Regions from separate parts of the Homo sapiens genome. Here region 2 is linked to region 1. The links are contacts of gene promoters, found by promoter capture Hi-C in blood cells and fetal thymus (Javierre and others, 2016). All regions are on one chromosome and are shown on one strand. The core of a region is centred on a gene start or on the middle of the fragment in contact, and the rest is flanking DNA. Distances in the headings are between cores, read along the strand shown.

Region 1 (4,287 bases), core at 904-3,403:
CAAAAATTAGCCGGGTGTGGTGGTGCACACCTGTAATCCCAGCTACTTGGGAGGCTGAGGCAGGAGAATTGCTTCAACCCGGGAGGCGGAGGTTGTAAGCCGAGATCAGGCCATTGCACTCCAGCCTGGGCAACAAGAGTGAAACTCCATCTCAAAAACAAAAAAAAATTTAGAGATGGGGTCTCACTATGTTGCCCAGGCTGGTCTCAAACTCCTGAGCTTAAACAGTCCTCTTGCCTTGGCCTCCCAAAGTGTTGGGATTACAGGTGTGAGCCACCACCCCCAGCCAAGAAGCCTAATTTACTGAGCTTCTTCTCTGTGCCAGATGCTTTCACACATTAATGAAGGTCACTTAAATCTTACAGTTCTCTGAGAAAGGCCTAATTTTTTGTTTTCATAACAAGCAAATTGAGGCTGAGGAAGAAAGTAATTTTTCCAAGGCTATACAGAGTGACTTTTAAAAAATGTAAATCAGGTGGGGCACAGTGGCGTGTGCCTGTAGTCCCAGCTATTCTTGAGGCTTGGGTAGGAGGATCACTTGAGCCCAGGTAGTTGAGGCTGCAGTGAGCTATGATCACACCACTGCACTCCAGCCTGGATGACAGGGTGAGAACCTGTCTCTACAAGTAAATCAAATCACTTCGCTCCCTTTCAATAGCCTGTCATAGCACTTCTAGTACTAGATGAGAAGACTGAGGCACAGAGAAGATACTAACTTGCCCAAAGTCACAATTAGCCAGGAGTAGATTTGAACCTAGGCACTGTATCCGGAGGCTGCACTCCTAACCATGAAATCTAAACTCCTTACCTTGGCTCACAAAGCCCTATATGCTCTGGTTCCTGCTTCCTCTCTGGCCTCTTGTTATACCACTCTCCCCAGCTTCCCTGGCCTTTCCTGTGTTCCTAAATTGTCAAGGTCATTTCCCCCAGGTTCTTTGCATGAACTGTGAAAAGAAAAAATTTAACTTTTAATTGGTGATTTGACTTTTTTTTGCCAAATTTGTTAAATCTGACTTTTATTTGCAACTCTAGAATCGGGCAACACTTCATTCTATAAAATGGAATGAGTGTTCAAATGAGCTGAGCAGAGGAGATTGGTTTTACAGCCAGAAAAGGGCTGAGGAAAGCAGAAACAGAAAACAAAAAGATTGGTTGTTTCAAAGTTACTTTCCTTGTAACTTTGAAGGCTAAAGCAGAGGGGACTTCCTTATCCTGCCAGCTAAAACAGGATGGTTTGGAGATCTAGCTATCTCTCACTCTTCTGATTTATCGGAATATCAGATAAACAACTTAGTTTCCACTTGGTGATGTAGAACTTTAGCATGAGTGACTCCATTTTGGTTCTGTTGGGCTTGGTGCAGGAGCCCTGTTCAAACCAATGGCCTCCAATTTTTTTTTTTTTTTGAGACGGAGTCTTGCTCTGTTGCCCAGGCTGGAATGAAGTGTTACTTTCTGAGCTCACTGCAGCCTCCACTTCCTGGATTCAAGCAATTCTCCTGCCTCAGCCTCCCAAGTAGGTGGGACCAGAGGTGTACGCCACCACGGTGGGCTAATTTTTTCTATTTTTTGTAGAGACAGGGTCTCCCCATTGTTGCCCAGACTGGTCTCGAACTCCTGGGCTCCAGTGATCCTTCCGCCTTGTCCTCCAAAGTGCTGGGATTACAGGTGTGGGCCTCTGCACCCGGCCCTGCCTCCTATAAATTTTACTTAACAAACTGTTCCCGCTAATTGCAATGCTCCTCCCATAGTTTTCACAAGCTTGGCTTCATGTCACTAATCTCAACTCAAATGTCACCTTCTCAGGGCACCCCTGACAATCCAATAAAAGACCACCTTGTCACCATCACATCACACCTTTAATCTTCTGAAGAAATTTTTCCCTATTTTTCTTCTTTGTTTTCTTAAGACTCTCTCCCCTGCAGCGCCATCAGCTCAGGGAGCCACTTGATCTTGGTCACTGCTCCATGCCGGAGCCTGGGAAGGAGCCTGGCCCAGGTCGCCGGTTCAATGAATGCGTGCGGAATGAATGAACGACTCTAGTGAAAGAGACTCCAATGACGCAGGCCGGGATTTGCGGAGCACGAGCCCCGCGCCGCGAAGCATTCTGGGGATTGTAGTTTCTCCGTGACGCGGTGACTTGCAGAGCACTGACGCACTCTGCGCCCGGAGGACAGAGCGGCCCGGTCGCCGGCATGGTTTCTCCGTCCTGCTGCAGCCGGCGGGAGGCAGCCAGTCCAGGCGCCCGCTAGCTTCGGCGGCGACCCAGACGGGGAAAGCGGAAGGAATGTCGCGTGGTGGGTCCGGGTCGGCGGTGCAGGGAGCCCCGGGGCGGAATGCGGGGGATGCCAGGACCTCCGGAAGGAGGTGCCGGAGCCCAGGAAGCGTTTTCTTCCCCATTTACCGAGTATAGCTCCTTTCCCCAGACCCGCTCCCGCTGCTCTGAGTAAGCGGTGCTCATCCCGTTTTACCGGTAGCTTAGCTAGCTTGGAGAAGCTAAGTGGTTTGCTAAGTGATCGCCCTCCTAGGAGGTGGCAAAGCCTGTTCTAGAACCCGGGCCTGACTCGAGGTCCGGTGACTGCTCTTTGCAGTCGCAGCAGCAGCCCCATACCTTTGCTTGATCGCAGATTCATCAGGCTGCAGCCGGGTGGCTGGTCGTTAGGCCATGCCCAGGGACCTAGCTCCCAGGCCCCCTCGTCACTGGCCTAGTCTGGCTTGCCACGCTCAGTGCCACAATGCACAGCCCTGGACGGGATGCTGAGTGAGGTCGTAAAGAGAGAGCGTTCCACCCCCTTTAACTCAGGTCTGAAAATAAGGGATAGGTAAGACATAGTGCACTAATACATTATCAGGGCATGTTGAAATCAAAGGAGAGTACCTTTAGTGGAGTGTGATTCTGGTAGCTTTGTTTCTCCTGTAGTTTAATAAATGTGGAAACAGGTTCAGAGACATTAACTTTTCTAGGTTTTCATAATTAGGGGTGGAGTGGGGATTCCAACCTAGGTTTCTCTACCTTCAAAACCTATGTACCTTATATAATACCGGTTGGGGGTTTTTTTCCCCAATTCATTATCCAGATTTATTTTCTTTTTTTTTTTCTGAGAGTCTCGCTGTGTCACCCAGGCTGGTGTGCAGTGGCACAATCTTGGCTCACTGTAACCTCTGCCTCCTGGGTTCAAGCGATTCTCCTGCTTCAGCCTCCCAAGTAGCTGAGATTACAGGTGCGCCCATGCCCAGGTAATTTTTGTATTTTTGGTAGATACTGGGTTTCACCATGTTGGCCAGGCGGGTCTTGAACTCCTGACCTCAGGTGATCCACTCGCCTTGGCCTCCCAAAATCCTGGGATTACAGGCGTGAGCCCTTGCACCCGGCCTCATTACCTTAATTTCTACTTACATAACAGCTGCATGGTGTAGACCAATAGTTCCCAGAGTGTGGGCCCCTGACCAGCAGCATCAGCATCACCTGGGAACATGTTCAAAATGACTTTATCTCTGGGCCTCACCTCAGACCTGAGTCAAACTGGGAGTGGGGCCCAGCAAGCTGAGTTAACAAGCCCCTCAGATGATTCTGATACACACTAATGTTTGAGAACTACTGGTGTCAACCAATGATTCTCAAACCTTAACGTGTATCTAATTCACGTAGGGGGTCATGTTAAAATGCAGTCTGTTTCCAGCCAGCGTGGAAGATGGCAGTGAGCCACTCAGTGAAGGAGTGGATTTTATCTCAGAACAGGCTTGGGGAGAGACCTGAGATTGCGCATTTCTAACCAGTACCCCTCAGCACTTTGGAGTTATCTGGGGAGCTTTCTTTTTTTTTTTTTTTTTTTTTTTTTTGAGATGGAGTCACTCTGCTGCCCAGGCTGGAGTGCAGTGGCACTCCACTTGCAGCTCACTGCAAGCTCTGTCTCCCAGGTTCACGCCATTCTCCTGCCTCAGCCCCCCGAGTAGCTGGGACTACAGGCGCCCGCCACCACGCCTGGCTAATTTTTTTGTATTTTTAGTAGAGATGGGGGTTTCACCATGTTAGCCAGGATGGTCTTGATCTCCTGACCTCATGATCCGCCCGCCTCGGTCTCCCAAAGTGCTGGGATTACAGGCGTGAGCCACCGCGCCCAGCCGGGAGCTTTTACAAAATAGGATACCTGGGCCCACCCCTCTAACCAAACGAATCAGAATCTCTGGGGTGGGGAGGTTGGGTTAAAAACTCACCAGATGATTCTAATGCACACCTGGTGTGAGGTTTGGAGCCAGACGGCTATGGATTTTCTTTTTTTTTTTTTTTGA
Region 2 (4,404 bases), core at 162-2,661, 510 kb after region 1:
TGATTCCCATCCCCAGACCAAATGTAAGGAAGTGGTGAGAGATGACCTGAAGGATTCCCAGGTCCAGGCTCCTCGTCCCATCACAGGGTAAGACACTTAAGACACAAGAGGTATCACCACCCCACAGCCCATCCTAAGGACTCCAGTTTTCTTGAGGCAATCCTGCCTCAGTTTATCCTCTGTTCCTATGTCTTTTCCTCCTCATTGCCTGCAAATAAGAAGTTAAGGCTATCACCTAGGCCTCACCAGGATGAAGGCTATAAACTCCCCCATCCTCCAACGTGTTTGTAGGGTTTAGATCTTGGCTCTAAAGACAGCCCTGACAGTTTCTGGGGAGTGGGGAGAGGAAAACGGAAAGATATCCAGTGGAAGATAGGAGCCATGAAAATATTAAGAAATATTAGAATAAATGTTATAAATGTAGAGTGTAACCTTAACAGACAATTCAATGGAAAATCTTTGGATTAAAAGCCCCCATCACTACTCAGTATTGGAGCAGAAACTTGCAAACCAAGCAGACAACTCCTTCCAGGTAGCCCCTGCCCTGTCCTTGATTCCTCCGTAACCAATACCTTTCCTAAGGCCTATCTTCAGGAGGACCCACCCCCAGAACCCATCGCTTCGGTCCCAGTCTTTCCTGTGGCAGAAAAATGCACTTTGGCAGCTTCCCTCAACCCATTCTTAGCAAACTGTGACTGAGGGCCAAGTGTAAGAGCCCCTAAAATGGGGGAGGGGACCATAACCATTTGCACACTGCCAGCATAACCTAAGAGAGAATGCACCCCATCAGCGCGCTCCTTTTTCCAAGCCAAACGGGGCGGGGCGGGGGGGTGTGGAGAGGTGGGGGTATTCGGACAGCCACGCCCCCACCACGTCGGGCAGCCCCTTCCAGCTGCCACCTCCGCGCATGCTCTGGAGCCTCCGCTCCGACTCCCCAGACCCACGGGGGGTAATCCCGGGACTGGGTCCCCACCCACCGCCCCCTGACCCTCGCCCTCGCGTCAGGCCCAGTGGGGCGGAGCTCACAGTCCAGCTCTGGCGCCTTCTCCCAAGAGACATTAGCCTATTCCAGCCCAGCGGAGCCCCCGCCCCCGGCATGCGGTAGCTCCAGGCCCATCTGTGTCGCCCCCTCCTCTCCTGGACACCTGGAGCCCGTCCCCTGCCACCTGCCGGGCCTCTCCGTAGGCCTCCACGGATGTCTGGGAGTCCTTCCGTGCGTGCAGGCCCTTCTCCCAGATTACTTCCAACCCGCAGGACTGTATACAGCCTCCTTGGACAAACAGCCCCCATCTCAGGGCTCTCTTCACATGGTTCTCCCCCGGAACTGCACACAGCCTCCTTCAAACTGGGCCCCCATCGTGGGAGAGCCCTTCTCCTCACTCAGGAGCGCTTCCATCACTTGGAAACCACGCTTTTCATGCGGGATCCCCCAGTCCTTGGAGCATGCACCGTTCCCCCTCCTGGGGACCCTTACCTGCTCCCGAGGGTCCCGCTTCCATCCCATATACCCGTGCGGAGGTCAGGCGGCCCGGAGACTGTGAAGTCCAGCGTGAGGGGCCTAGGTACCCCACACTCTCGCTGCTCGGGATCCCGGGCCGGGCTCGGCTCCCCTACCAAGCCCGGCCGCTCGCGCCGCCGCCCCCGCAGCCTCCGTTGCCGCCGCCGCGGAGCCTGCAGCAGCTCCCACTGCGAGCGCCCGGCCAGCTGCCAGTGCGCAGGCGCGACCGCCGGGCCCAGGGGGCGGACCGGAACGAGTCAAGCGGGGCGCTCCGACGGCAACAAAGGCCAATGGAGAGGGGCGGGGGCACCGGGGACCCAAGGCAGCGGCCCCTGGCGGTCACCCGTCGCCATGCAGCCCGGCGGGAGGGCGCCAGTAGAGGTGCCTTGGAACCGCGCAGTGGTATAAGTGGGGCAGGGCGAAGGGACATCCCGCCACAGCAGCCTTCAGCCCTGTGTCTTTTCCCCAAATAGGTCCCTCCAAACCTACACACAGCCCCCGCCTGTCGCACCGAGCTGCGCGCACACATTATGGGAACCCCACTTCATTCCCAGACCCCCTGGCACTCCAGCGCCCAGGGGCCCTGCCTCCCACCTCTCCTCCCAATCACCCTCATCCTTCAAGCCTTGGCTGCAAAGCGACTGCCTCCACGAAGTCTTTCTCCGTCCCTAGTCACTGAACTCACTGACGCCACCCCCTCTTCCACGCCATGTGCTGGACGCTGAGACCACAGATAAGTAGAGACGCGGCCTACCCTGGAAGATGTCACAGTTTGAACTTAAGTGCAGCTACAGAGCTCTATCCGCCGGACCTGGGAAGCACCTGCCTCCACTTTCTCATCTACAGTTCATGCCTGAACTGTCAATCAGCTTCTGCCCTCATCACGTCACTTAAATGACTTTTGGGGTTGACATCCAAAGGATACTTTTCAATTATTTCTCTGCAGCATCTGTCACTGTGCCTCTACTTCCCTTCTGAGCCTTCTACTTGGCTGCGGCATCTTCTGCAGTCTCCTATTGCCTAAGTCCTTTTCAGTCTTTCTAAAGGGCCCCTTTTGCTTTTGCCTCATTAACTGTTCACTGTGGTTCCAAACCCAGCTCTCTTCTCATTCCACTCTCCCCTTAAAGGTCTCATCCACTCTTACGGCCCAACTATCCTTCCAAATCTCTGTTTCCAACCATGTCTCATACTCACATTTCCAAGTGTTTGCTGGACAGCTCCACCTGGATATCCTACCAGCACTTCAAATTTAAGAAGTCCAAACCAAACACTTTATCTTTCACTCACAAACATACTTGCCCTGTGCTTCCTATCTCAGCGAACAGCACCTTCATGTCAGAAATGACAGTTCCTCTATCCCTTGTTCTTTCCATCTATTCAGCTGTTCACCACGTCTTGACATGTTTACCTTCTGAACTGCTCTCACATGATTCACTGCCATTCTGATGGTTTCTTATGCTGGTGCAGACCCTTATCATATCTTGCTAGACGTATCACAACCACTTCCTTGCTAGTCTCAAAGTTTCTGGGAACTCCCATTCTCCCTCCTATTCGGTCTGGTGCAGTGATAGGCGGGGTAAGAGACCCAGCTCAAACATCACTTTCCCATAAACTCACAAATTTTTGATGCCTGCTTTACACTAGATGCCATGCAGAGGCTGGGAACTTAAGGGATGGACCATAACCGGTCCTTACTCATGAGGAGATTAATTTCTGACACTTATACCATGCCTTGCTTCTAGAGGTTCTCAAACAGCAACCATCAGAATCACCTGGAAAGCTTGTTAAAACTTGGATTGGTGGCTGGGCGCAGTGGCTCACGCCTGTAATCCCAGCACTTTGGGAGGCCAAGGCGGGTGGATCACCTGAGGTCAGGAGTTCAAGACCAGCCTAGCCAACATAGTGAAGTCTCGTCTCTACTAAAAATACAAAAAATTAGCCAGGTGTTGTGGCAGACACCTGTAATCCCAGCTACTCAGGAGGCTAAGGCAGGAGAATAGCTTGAACCGGGGAGGGGGAGGTTGCAGTGAGCTGAGATCACGCCATTGTACTTCAGCCTGGGCAACAAGAGTGAAACTCCGTCTCAAAAAAAAACAAAAACCAAAAAACAAAACTTGGATTGGTAAGCCCTGCCTCTAGAGTTTTCGATTCAGTAGGTGTTGGGTGGGACCCAAAAATGTGCATTTCTAACAAGTTTCCAGATAAGGCTGATGATGCTGCCGATCTGGGGACTATGAGAATTACTGCTTTACATACGAAGTAGAGGTGAAGAACAAAGACTCTGGAGCCAGACTGTCTCGGTTTCAATATTGGCCCTGCATTTACTAGACATGTAATAGTAGGCACATTATTTAACTTCTCCGTGTCTCAATTTCCTCCTCTGTAAAATGGCAGTGGTAATAGTACCTACCTCATTCGGTTGTTGTGAAGATTAAATGAGTTAATACATAAAAACACTTCAGTGGCCGGGCACAGTGGTTCACGCCTGTAATCTCAGCACTTTGGGAGACCAAGGCAGGCAGATCACCTGAGGTCAGGAGTTCGAGACCAGCCTGGCCAACATGGTGAAACCCCATCTACACTAAAAATACAAAAATTAGCTGAGCATAATGGCACACGCCTGTAGTCCCAGCTCCTCGGGAGGCTGAGGCACAAGAATCGCTTGAACCTGGGAGGCAGAGGTTGCAGTGAGCTGAGATCATGCCACTGCACTCCAGCCTGGGTGACAAAGCAAGACTCCATCTCAAAAAACAAAAAACAAAACGAAACAAAAACACTTTAGAACAGTGCCTAAAAAGAATGCAAGCAAAATATCAGCTGCTATCATAATCATTACTTGCCTCTCACACTATATTCTTTTTTTGAGACAGGGTCTTACTCTGTTACCCAGGCTGTAGTGCAGCTGC

What was found. The method cuts DNA at HindIII sites, captures the fragments that hold promoters and counts their contacts. A CHiCAGO score of 5 or more calls a contact.
Region 2: a contact is called between a fragment that was not itself captured here and the fragment with the promoter of LSM10 in region 1, in 1 of 17 cell types (fetal thymus). The highest score is 8.9, in fetal thymus.

Annotation. Positions count from the first base shown.
Region 1 is chr1:36,395,774-36,400,060 of GRCh38, reverse strand. It overlaps LSM10 (LSM10, U7 small nuclear RNA associated), which reads left to right and starts at 2,153. Exons shown (of 2, transcript NM_032881.3): 1 at 2,153-2,294. RefSeq lists enhancers at 1,584-2,295, 2,296-3,008. The HindIII fragment of the contact is 5,014 bases long and covers 1,761-4,287 here.
Region 2 is chr1:35,880,517-35,884,920 of GRCh38, reverse strand. It overlaps AGO1 (argonaute RISC component 1), which reads right to left and starts at 1,712. Exons shown (of 19, transcript NM_012199.5): 1 at 1,475-1,712. The coding sequence starts at 1,499. RefSeq lists a silencer at 1,490-1,949. The HindIII fragment of the contact is 3,739 bases long and covers 1-3,280 here.